Regions from separate parts of the Homo sapiens genome. Here region 1 is linked to region 2. Evidence: promoter capture Hi-C in 16 types of primary human blood cells and fetal thymus (Javierre and others, 2016). All regions are on one chromosome and are shown on one strand. Each heading gives the region's core, a stretch centred on a gene start or on the middle of the fragment in contact. The rest is flanking DNA. Distances are from core to core; before and after follow the strand shown. Region 1 overlaps ARHGEF38 (Rho guanine nucleotide exchange factor 38). Region 2 holds the start of TET2 (tet methylcytosine dioxygenase 2).

Region 1 (5,338 bases), core at 1,252-3,751, 530 kb after region 2:
TTGTTTTTCATATTGCTCTCTTGCAAATGCATACATGTTTATATACATACATATAAACCATATATATTATGTAGCTTTATACACGTATGTGGATAATATGAATTATACACCTATATGTATAAATCAGAGTATACACCAAATATACATAAGAAGAATATACCACCAACTAGAAGTCTTTGATAATATATTTTGTTAATGTTTCGTTTATATGTTTTGAACTAAAACTGAATAACTTGATATTAACATGTAACATTACTGAATGCACACTATATGCCAGACATTGTTCTAAGTGCTTTATATGTAGTAACTTGTTTAATATTCAAAACATTATGAAGAAACCATGGCCCAAAAAGGTGAAGTAATTTAATCCAAATCACATTGCTATTAAGTGGTGGGCCTGGACTTAAACCTAGGTAGTGTAAACCAAAAATAAAATTCTAAGGCTTCCAACCATCTAAATAGACTTCCCCTTCAGCCAGGGCTTTTTTCTTTCTTTTCTTGTTGTTTTTTTTTTTTTTTAAAGAGACAATAAAAGGAGGTTTTTTTATTCAAAGGTATAACTGGATAAGTAGATTTGTTTACAATCATTCTTGTGAAATACTTTTTTAAAAAAATACGATCAACTTCTTTGCAAATAGTAGACACATACCTCAACAATGATGACCTAATTTTTGATCCATAATGTAAGATTAGGTAGAAATAGGCAAGCTCACACTGCTAAATTAACTATCAAATACTCAGTCAAAACTCCATTTGTGGCCCCCACTTCTTGATCTATTTCTGTTCCACTTCGTCTTCTACCATCTTGCCGACTTTCCTGAGCAACTGCTTTGTCGACTCTCTCTACCTGACCAATTGCCAGATCGACAACCTGACTGGCCTGACCAGCCACTCCTCTGTCTGGAATTAAAAGATGTTTCCATCATAATATTCTTTAATTTCAGGTAATTTAGCTGGCACTGAGAGTATCCAGCCGGAATCATGCCACTTTGCCTGTAACCTTTGACTCAATTGGAGGAATATCAAAGCAAACACCCATATTTCCTTTCAGGAGGCACACTCTGGTAATCTGAGACACTGCATTACTATTCAGCTTTCTAAGTTCTTTCCAAGCACAGCTGACATCCTGTATTTCCTCTAGGCTTTCCAGAGTCATGGTCACAAACCCCTTATCAGAGTTGATTAAAGATCATGGTTCAAAGCTTGATACACCAGAAATGTGGGCTAAAGCTGCAGCCAATGCATCTATCGCCCCTTTCTCTTCTATCAGTATCTGAGCTGATGGTTGGAAAAAAATCAACAGCAGCATAAGAAATGGAAGCCAGAGACCTTATGGCATCCATGCTTTTAAATTTAACTAAATCCATTGTAGAAGGAACACCTACACATTTAAAAGTAATTTGTGTTTTTTGTTCCACATGTCTTAGTTGACCTTTCTCTTGGTTGATAAAAACATATACAAACCCCTGTCTGTCCAGCTTTACCCACGCATCCAGAGAGATGGATATAGGACTCAATATCCTGAGGAGGAGAACTTTGAATCACCAGGTCAACTACAGGAATGTCCAAACCACGAGGAGCCACATTGGTTGCCACCAAAACTTTATAATTACCTCTCTGAAGCCTTTTAGTGTAATTTCTCTTTGTGACTGTGCAATGTCCCCATGTAAACACAGTGCATTCTGTTTTGTGCGGATTCATGGCCATGTCAGTTACATTCTTCTTCGTCTCACAGAAAATAATAGCCCTCCCTTCAGATCCACTGTAGACTTGAAGGACATCTCATTTTCATCTGTGTTTTATAAAGGAGGAAATTGAGGACCTCACATGGAGGGACTGGAATTTAAAACCAGGTCTTCTGACTTTAAGGCCTTTCTTTTAGTGTTTTCCCTTTTCTTTTCCTTAAGTCACTAAAATCTGTAGTTATATAATCTTACATAAAGCATATGCAAAATAGAAAAATGATAGTCACCACATATCTACTAATGGGATTAAAATGTACAATCCTAAAAGCTTACTTGTTAGCACACTTGCTTATCTGTCCATTCATTCATTGAACCAGTAAGTATTTATTGAGAGTTAGTGGGAATACAATGCTGTGCAAGACAAACAAGATCCCTCCATTCATACCACTTAAATTCTAGTGGGGAAAACATCTGCACATAACAAACTAAATAAAATGATCATAAAATAATAAATGCTATTTATATAAAACTGGCTACTTTCATTACTGCTCAGTTAAAGGGTCTTGTAGCTCATTTTATGACATGAAAAAAATCAAGGTCTAAAAGCTCCTTGAGACAATTTAAACTCTAATACCAAATATACCTCTATAAAATACCAAACTGAGCTAAATACGGTATATGTGTACTTATACATATGTACATAACCTAAATATACGTGTGCACACATTATCTATACAAAGAGCCATACTCAGTGAAAGATAAATTACCTCCTAAACTAAAGTCCCCTCTGAGGTACAACAGAAATTAAAATAATTGCTTCTCTTCTCAACTCTATGTAGCACGTATTTTCCATGATGGGATAAATGTTTTCATTTCAAGTGCCAATGTGTGAACTGTAATAAACATTACTGCTTTCATTTTTTGTAGGTATGGAGGTTACATTAACTGTTATAGTTGCGGAGCTGAGTTTTTATGTCAGGTAATTTTGTTTAGTCCAAACTGGTTTTGAACTATAAACAATTATGGATATGTATTTTTTGGTTTCTTTGACCCCAAAGGGAAATTGGGGTTTATGTCAAATTGATGTTTTATCAAAATAAATCTGTTTCTCAAAGCAAAAGTCTCTGTAGGATTGAGATAATTCATTATTTACATATAGGGTAAACAGACATTTACTGCCTATTGAGATCATAATTGAGATAATGGATTATCTCAATCCTGGATTCTAATTTACTACAAATAATTTAGCACCATTATTTAACAGAGCAGTTTAAAATAATAATCTTTCCTTAAAAAAAAAAAGACCAAGCTTAATTTTAAAAGCTTTGTGTTTACAGAGATCACCTATCAATATACTTTAGAATAATGATGTTAGAAAAACCTAGGGATTAAGGAAGACAGTTTGAGATTAGAGATTTGTAGAGTGAAGATTTAGTAGCACAAATCAAGTTTGATGGAACAGGCTGTTCATAGTCTTGTGAATGTGTGAATTTGTTGGATATCCAGTTTTTTTGCTGTGAATAATAAACTGTTTCTCTGATGCAGAGGGCTTCCTATCTTCTCTCAGAATATACATGTACAACAATTGCTGGTTAATTTGTTAGCTTGCAAGTAAGACAACAACGCAGACCTTCCACATTTTCTGACTTAACCCACTTATGCCTAGTGTTCCATTATTGCAATGCTCGGCTTATAGAGTTATTTATATCCTACTGTTCAAGGTCATCATCAGGTCTGATTTTTCACCAAAAAAATTTGCAACCTCTGGCATAAATGGGTTAACAATGTACAAAACAATCTCAAGAATTAATCATTATATAGGAGCTTATTGTATACAAAGTTAGCTAAAATTAGGTAAAGTGCTATAACATTTTGAGCACTAAGTAAGATAGCCTTTTCTTTCATGGTATAGGAAGAAGCCATCAGTGTGTGAACAAGTCATATATTTCCATCTGCAAAGACCTTTGTGAAATGGTATTTTTCTTCAAAACTTATCAGGAATGTGCATAACCAAGATGAATCAAAATTCAACATTTATTACGTACTATGTGCATGTATTACATTGGCAATGTAGGAAAAGTGAGCAATGTGAGAAAAAATATTGTATTAAGCACCAGGAGAGTTCACAATTTATTGGAAAAAGATATACCCTTAAATAATTGAAATGAGGTGATAAAAAAGGTAAAGATATAATATGAAGTATGATAAATCAATTAGGAAAATCCATTGATATGAGAAATCAATAATGAAAAAATAATTTTGAAAAAGATGAAATAATTGGGAGGGAGAGGGAGAGTCAGTTGAAATGGGGCTAGCACAGAAAATGAACACCCAGAATACGGGGAGGAAAATAGAAAACTATGTTGGGTCGTCCCTGCCGCCACATAAGGCACCTCATTCATCAGGATCAACTCTTGGGGCTTTGCTAGAAGATGAACTATTTCTTTTTCCTTAAATTCACAGATGCTTTCAATCTTCTGAAGATCTCATTGAGAACCAGTCATTCTAATCATTGTTTTCACACACTATGGAAATCATTAGAATAAAAATGTTGAAGATTGATTTAAAATGAAAGTTTCCAAGTTTTGTTATATAATATTTAGCATTTTAAGGTAAGAAACAATAGAAATTTGATTATGAAGACTTTTATTAAATTACAGTGTATTACAGATTATATCATAATAATAAGCCTTTCATCTTTAGGCTAATATGATACAAAAACCTACTTGGCCACATTACTTCTTGAGTTTCTTTTGGGCAGCTTTCTTCTTGACCATCTGTAATCGCTTCATAGCATTGAGCTGTGATTCTTGTGAAGTTGGGCCTTTAAGGGATGCTGAGGGAGAGCTGCTGGATTCTGAAGTAGTTTTGCTGGTAGTACTTCCACTAGGTCCTGATGTTCCACTATTTCCATTCCCACTTAGTTGGCTGCTGCTTCCTGGAACTAAACTACTTGGACTAGGAAGACCTACTTTGCTGACATTGTCACAACTAACTGAGCGACTAAGGCCAGTTTTACCCAAGGTTAGAGGTGGAGGTGGTTTTAAAGGTACAGTGGGCGTAGTGCTGTTATTGGAACCTATTTTGGAACCTATTCCACCTTTGGATGATGTTGCCAGACCAGTCAAACCCACAGGTTTCTGGTTAGCTGACGAAGTAGCAGGTTTCCCAGTATTGTTTTGTGTTGTTGAACTCAATTTTGCTGTTGAAGGACCAGCAGAGGAAGTTTTGGCTGCAAAAGCTGCCCATCCAGTTAAGCCACTAGTTACTGACGAGGAAACGCTGGCACTAGAAGAATTTCCTGAAATAACTGTGGATGTCTAAAAAAATAAAGTAAATAATTACATTAGAGCCAAGTTTAATCAGTACCTGTATAAACATCCCAAGTTATGAATTGGGAAATTTAAATCACACCACCAAATTAGGTTCTTATGAAGCTGATCTGAAAAACCACACAGAACAAAACTTATCTGTATCTAGTGGGTATTATCATTTGCAAAGCAGAAAATTTTTGATACCATATTCTTGTTCTAATGATTCCAAAAGAAAATATATGAAATTCCTTTTTGGGAATTGCTTTTAGATTCAATTCTAAGCTATATCTGAAAACCAGATTTAGTGCTTTAACATAGTTTTTACCCAACAAAGTATTA
Region 2 (4,957 bases), core at 2,303-4,802:
GAGATCGCGCCACTCACTCCGTCCTGGGTGACAGAGTGAGACTCCGTTTCAAAAAAAAAAAAAAAGAAAGAAAGAAAGAACATTTTCTATTCTGCAGGTGGGAGGAAATGAAGAATGCACCTATTATTTTTGTGTTAGTACAACATAAAAAAAATTTGCATTGTAAAGCAAACTACCATCATCAGCTCTTTAATGGACAGCAGCAGACAGGAAACTGCCTCCACCCTGAGACTTAAAGACTGAGCAACTGAGTTAGATAGCAGGTGCGCAGGCCAATCAAGTCAATTTTCTAACACAGAGTAGCATGTTGTGGAACTTGTTCTATTAGTCTTTTTTCTCTGTTAAGGAAGCAAGGATCTCTCTGTATGGAAGCAGTGCTGCTATTTCTAGTTTGAGGAAAAAAATGGTAAAGAATTTGATAATTAATTGTTGTTAAAACAGCAAATTATATTTTAAACACAGATTGTCCACACCTGTAGGAGGAGGAATCTCAAGAATGCACACAATTAATAAAAGCTGGTTCTGAATTACCCATACAAGTGCGCACTGCGTTCAGTAAACAACTGATTTGCAAACTATATCCTTTCTTTCCCAGAAATAGCAGGAGGAAGTTTTTCAAATCAAAAAAAAAATCTAACTAAAATATTTTATACGTGAAGGCCTGCAGAATTTTACTTCCTTTTGCTGTTGAAAAATCACAATAGCCAAGAGGAGTAATGTATTTTATTTTAACTTTTAAAAAGTCATGATGGTTAAGGGTAGAGTGGAGGTGCAGAGAAAGAAGTTGGCAAGAAAATGTTCAGGGCCTGTTGTAAAACCAACTGCAACCCAAACATGATTCCAAATAGGTAAGAACACCCTGTTACAACAGAGAGCAGTTTTCAAAGAAGAAATGAGAGGGAGGTGACCTGAAAGATCATTTCCCAGTTATAACTAAAGGAACCTACGGATACTTTTATATTAAACACATGCTAATATAATATTTTCCACATATTATTAAATGTAAGAAGATATATAATTATATACTTCTATAGTCAGAAACAAAATAACTCCTAGAAGTAAATGGTTTGTTACTGTAGTAGTAGTAACTACCTGGGCACTTACCTAGTGCTCTTATTAAAAACTCACCACAACTCTGCTGTCTTACAGGTTGTTGAACAGATTGAAAGAAACCGATACCGAGAGAGTTAAGTAAAATGCACAAGGTCACACTGGAAAAGATAGAGTTAAGAGTCACTCAGCTCTGTAAAACTCCAAAGCCCATGTTTCAACAACTCTGCAATACTGTGCACTGTATAAATGTATGTTGTGGTCTTGAGAGAACTTTATTTCCTGGACTTGAAAAATACATCACAAGCCGGGCGCGGTGGCTCACGCCTGTAATCCCAGCACTCTGGGAGGTCAGGAGTTCCAGACCAGCCTGGCCAATATGGTGAAACCCCGTCTCTATTAAAAATACAAAAAATAGCTGGGCGTGGTGGCGCACGCCTGTAGTCCCAGCTACTCCGGAGGCTGAGGCAGAAGAATCGCTTGAACCCGGAAGGCCGAGGTTGCAGTGAGCCGAGATCGCGCCACTGCACTCCAGCCTGGGTGACAGAGAGAGGCTGTCTCAAGAAAGAAAGAAAAGGAAAGAAAAGAAAGAAAGAAATAAAGATCACAAAGAACTTTCAAACAGCTTAGATTTTAAAGTGCATTAACAATTTCCAAGACCTAAGTGACGCTTTAGTGTACAGCTAGAAAACATGGAATGTCATTCCCACCTGAAATGTTTAAGGGAAAATGTACTATTTCCTTAGTTTGTGCAAAATCTGAAATCTGAGTCAACTTTGTTTCAAAATGGAATAAACAAAGTTTGATTGGACCCACTAAACATTCTTCTTAGCAACAATGCGACACTTGCAAGGAGTTCCCTTTTTCACACTCTTCAAAGAGGAAATATTCCGATTTCGTAAAATTAGGGCTTCGCTTTTAAAAAAAATTACAGACCAAAAAAAGTGTGGTTACACAATATAACTAGTATTGACTTAAGGGTACTGTGATCACCATGCAGTGATCCCATAAAAGATGTGACCAAAATACCCACTTAAAATTTGAACGTCAGTCATGTAAGAACATGTAAAAGATGAAGGGAATATTTCAAAAACGACTATCTGACGTAATATGATACTTACTATGACTCATATGGGCTTTGTTCTTCATCTCATCTTCAAATAAAAAGTTGATGATTAGAAAAAGGAGCATTAGAAGGGGGAAGTAACACTACTCGGCAATAGAGAAAAACTCCGGTCAAAGGAAGAGCATAGTTACAGAGCTCCGAATGTCAGGGAAAATCAAGCATCCGTCATTCGGAATTAGCTCTGTATCGGTCGGTTTCTTCATTACTTAATTGTACGGGGGGAAACTACTTCAAAGTAAGGGCTCTTACGAGAGGCAACTTAAGCATTTGAAAGTGCAGGTTTATTTCCTCCTAGCGAGAAGTAGGGGGTCACTAGTGAGAAACCTATTTCAATCTGTGAGACGCCCCCTTCTACTCAGCCCACGTGGCTAAAGTAAACAGAAGGTGGGCCGGGGCGGGGAGAAACAGAACTCGGTCAATTTCCCAGTTTGTCGGGTCTTTAAAAATACAGGCCCCTAAAGCACTAAGGGCATGCCCTCGGTGAAACAGGGGAGCGCTTCTGCTGAATGAGATTAAAGCGACAGAAAAGGGAAAGGAGAGCGCGGGCAACGGGATCTAAAGGGAGATAGAGACGCGGGCCTCTGAGGGTAAGGTGGGCGCAAGCGGAGGTGTGGTGCGGGGAGAGGTGCCAGTGGGTGGAGGCGGGGGCCAGAGCGAGGGCACGTGCGGGTACACTCCGGAGGAGGTGGGTGCGCGCGGGGGCGTGTGCGCGGGACCTCGAAGTGGTGGTGGAGTGCAGACCAGCAAAAAGTTTCAAAGGGAAATCTTAGATGTCACGTCTTTGTCCAGGCACCCGTGCCATCCCAACCTCCCACCTCGCCCCCAACCTTCGCGCTTGCTCTGCTTCTTCTCCCAGGGGTGGAGACCCGCCGAGGTCCCCGGGGTTCCCGAGGGCTGCACCCTTCCCCGCGCTCGCCAGCCCTGGCCCCTACTCCGCGCTGGTCCGGGCGCACCACTCCCCCCGCGCCACTGCACGGCGTGAGGGCAGCCCAGGTCTCCACTGCGCGCCCCGCTGTACGGCCCCAGGTGCCGCCGGCCTTTGTGCTGGACGCCCGGTGCGGGGGGCTAATTCCCTGGGAGCCGGGGCTGAGGGCCCCAGGGCGGCGGCGCAGGCCGGGGCGGAGCGGGAGGAGGCCGGGGCGGAGCAGGAGGAGGCCCGGGCGGAGGAGGAGAGCCGGCGGTAGCGGCAGTGGCAGCGGCGAGAGCTTGGGCGGCCGCCGCCGCCTCCTCGCGAGCGCCGCGCGCCCGGGTCCCGCTCGCATGCAAGTCACGTCCGCCCCCTCGGCGCGGCCGCCCCGAGACGCCGGCCCCGCTGAGTGATGAGAACAGACGTCAAACTGCCTTATGAATATTGATGCGGAGGCTAGGCTGCTTTCGTAGAGAAGCAGAAGGAAGCAAGATGGCTGCCCTTTAGGATTTGTTAGAAAGGAGACCCGACTGCAACTGCTGGATTGCTGCAAGGCTGAGGGACGAGAACGAGGTCAGAGCGCTTCTCTTATGCCGCGAAACTCTCCCTTTCTTCTCCCCTTCGCTTTTTCTCGGGCTTCCAGGGACTGGGGAGCAAACCCTGTAGTGTCACCCACAAATACCAAGAGGGAAGAGGGAAGCTTCACAAATTACTGGAGCCTCTTCAACATGGCTGACAAATATAGTTTTAATTCCCTCTACCCCTTTTAAACCTGTAGTTCTGTGTTCTCTTCTCTCCTCCTAATGCTCGTCCCCTCATCTCCCAGAAAACTTACCTTTGTGCCTCCGACGAGCCGGTTTCCCGGCCTTTTTTAATCCTCAGAAAAGTGATTTTTAAATTTGCTTTCCTTTCTAAAATAGTTCAGCTTTGGGGGCACTACTTTTCCCTTTAATCCTCTTCCCCTGTTTCTTTCGTGTAAGTGAAACGAGTCTCCCGTTTATCCTGAACAACCTCAGAGAGAACACTGATAGGGTGTTTTTCGACCCTTTTATCAGCTGTAGGGTCTGGGTCTGGGTTTGTGTCTGCCTCCTCCTACCTTCTTATCCCCCTTTAGGGGGCTGTACGAAGTGAATGTCACAGGGAGTGGAATTGGAGTACACTGAGTGGGTTTTTTTTTTCCTTAAGTCCGCGCGTTTTGTTAGCGGCGCTGAGTGAAAGAGGAAAGAATAGTTTCTCTGGTTCCCCAAACAAGACCAGAACTCACTTTTCTCAAGGTACATAAGTCAGCGCTGGGCTGAGCCTTCCAGCCTGGGGAATGTATGTAAGAGAATTTATGGACAAATCTGTGTCCCGGCTTTGTGCTTCTCCCGAATCAGCTTCGTTTGGTTCCTTGGTAAGTGACAGGCAGACACAAAGGCAGGCGCAGGCCCGGGGAGGGGGCGGGAGGGGGTGGGGAGCGCAGCGTTGGAGTTGCAAGACTGCAAGGTCAGGGGCGCCTAAAGAAATGAAACCCAATCCCAGCAAAGAAGTGAAGAGCAGATTTATAACAGTCCCATCCAAATTTCTCTTTGGCTTCTCTCTTTGGTCTTTCATCTCTCTGCCTTTCTCTCTGTGTCTCCTCTCTACTCTTTCTTCTCTCTCTCTCATACACATACACACACACACACACACACACACCTCACTCGCATCTTGCTGAATCTTTTCACTGGGACTGCTTGTCTAGTTTTATTAAGCTAATAGGGTTTGTATGGAGAGTTTTCTACCTATGACATAATGAAGTGTGGCCTGGATAGACTCCTGGAAAGGCCGAAAATGAAATATAAGTGTTATTTGCTGGTTATTCCCCTCATGATATACTTTTAATTACATTGAGG

The links. The method cuts DNA at HindIII sites, captures the fragments that hold promoters and counts their contacts. A CHiCAGO score of 5 or more calls a contact.
Region 1: a contact is called between a fragment that was not itself captured here and the fragment with the promoter of TET2 in region 2, in 6 of 17 cell types (naive B cells, activated CD4 T cells, total B cells and 3 more). The highest score is 7.5, in naive B cells.

Annotation. Positions count from the first base shown.
Region 1 is chr4:105,678,313-105,683,650 of GRCh38, forward strand. ARHGEF38 (Rho guanine nucleotide exchange factor 38) reads left to right here. Exons shown (of 14, transcript NM_001242729.2): 14 at 1-2,602. It overlaps INTS12 (integrator complex subunit 12), which reads right to left. Exons shown (of 8, transcript NM_020395.4): 8 at 4,315-5,005. The coding sequence ends at 4,421. Among named protein-coding and RNA genes, the nearest start is that of INTS12, 28 kb to the right of the region's middle. The HindIII fragment of the contact is 981 bases long and covers 2,012-2,992 here.
Region 2 is chr4:105,143,324-105,148,280 of GRCh38, forward strand. TET2 (tet methylcytosine dioxygenase 2) reads left to right here and starts at 3,553. Exons shown (of 11, transcript NM_001127208.3): 1 at 3,553-3,656. It overlaps LOC124900868, which reads right to left. Exons shown (of 3, transcript XM_047416559.1): 2 at 2,172-3,638. The coding sequence ends at 2,950. RefSeq lists enhancers at 1-420, 3,565-3,734, 4,078-4,127 and silencers at 2,815-3,494, 4,458-4,527. The HindIII fragment of the contact is 4,110 bases long and covers 1-3,781 here.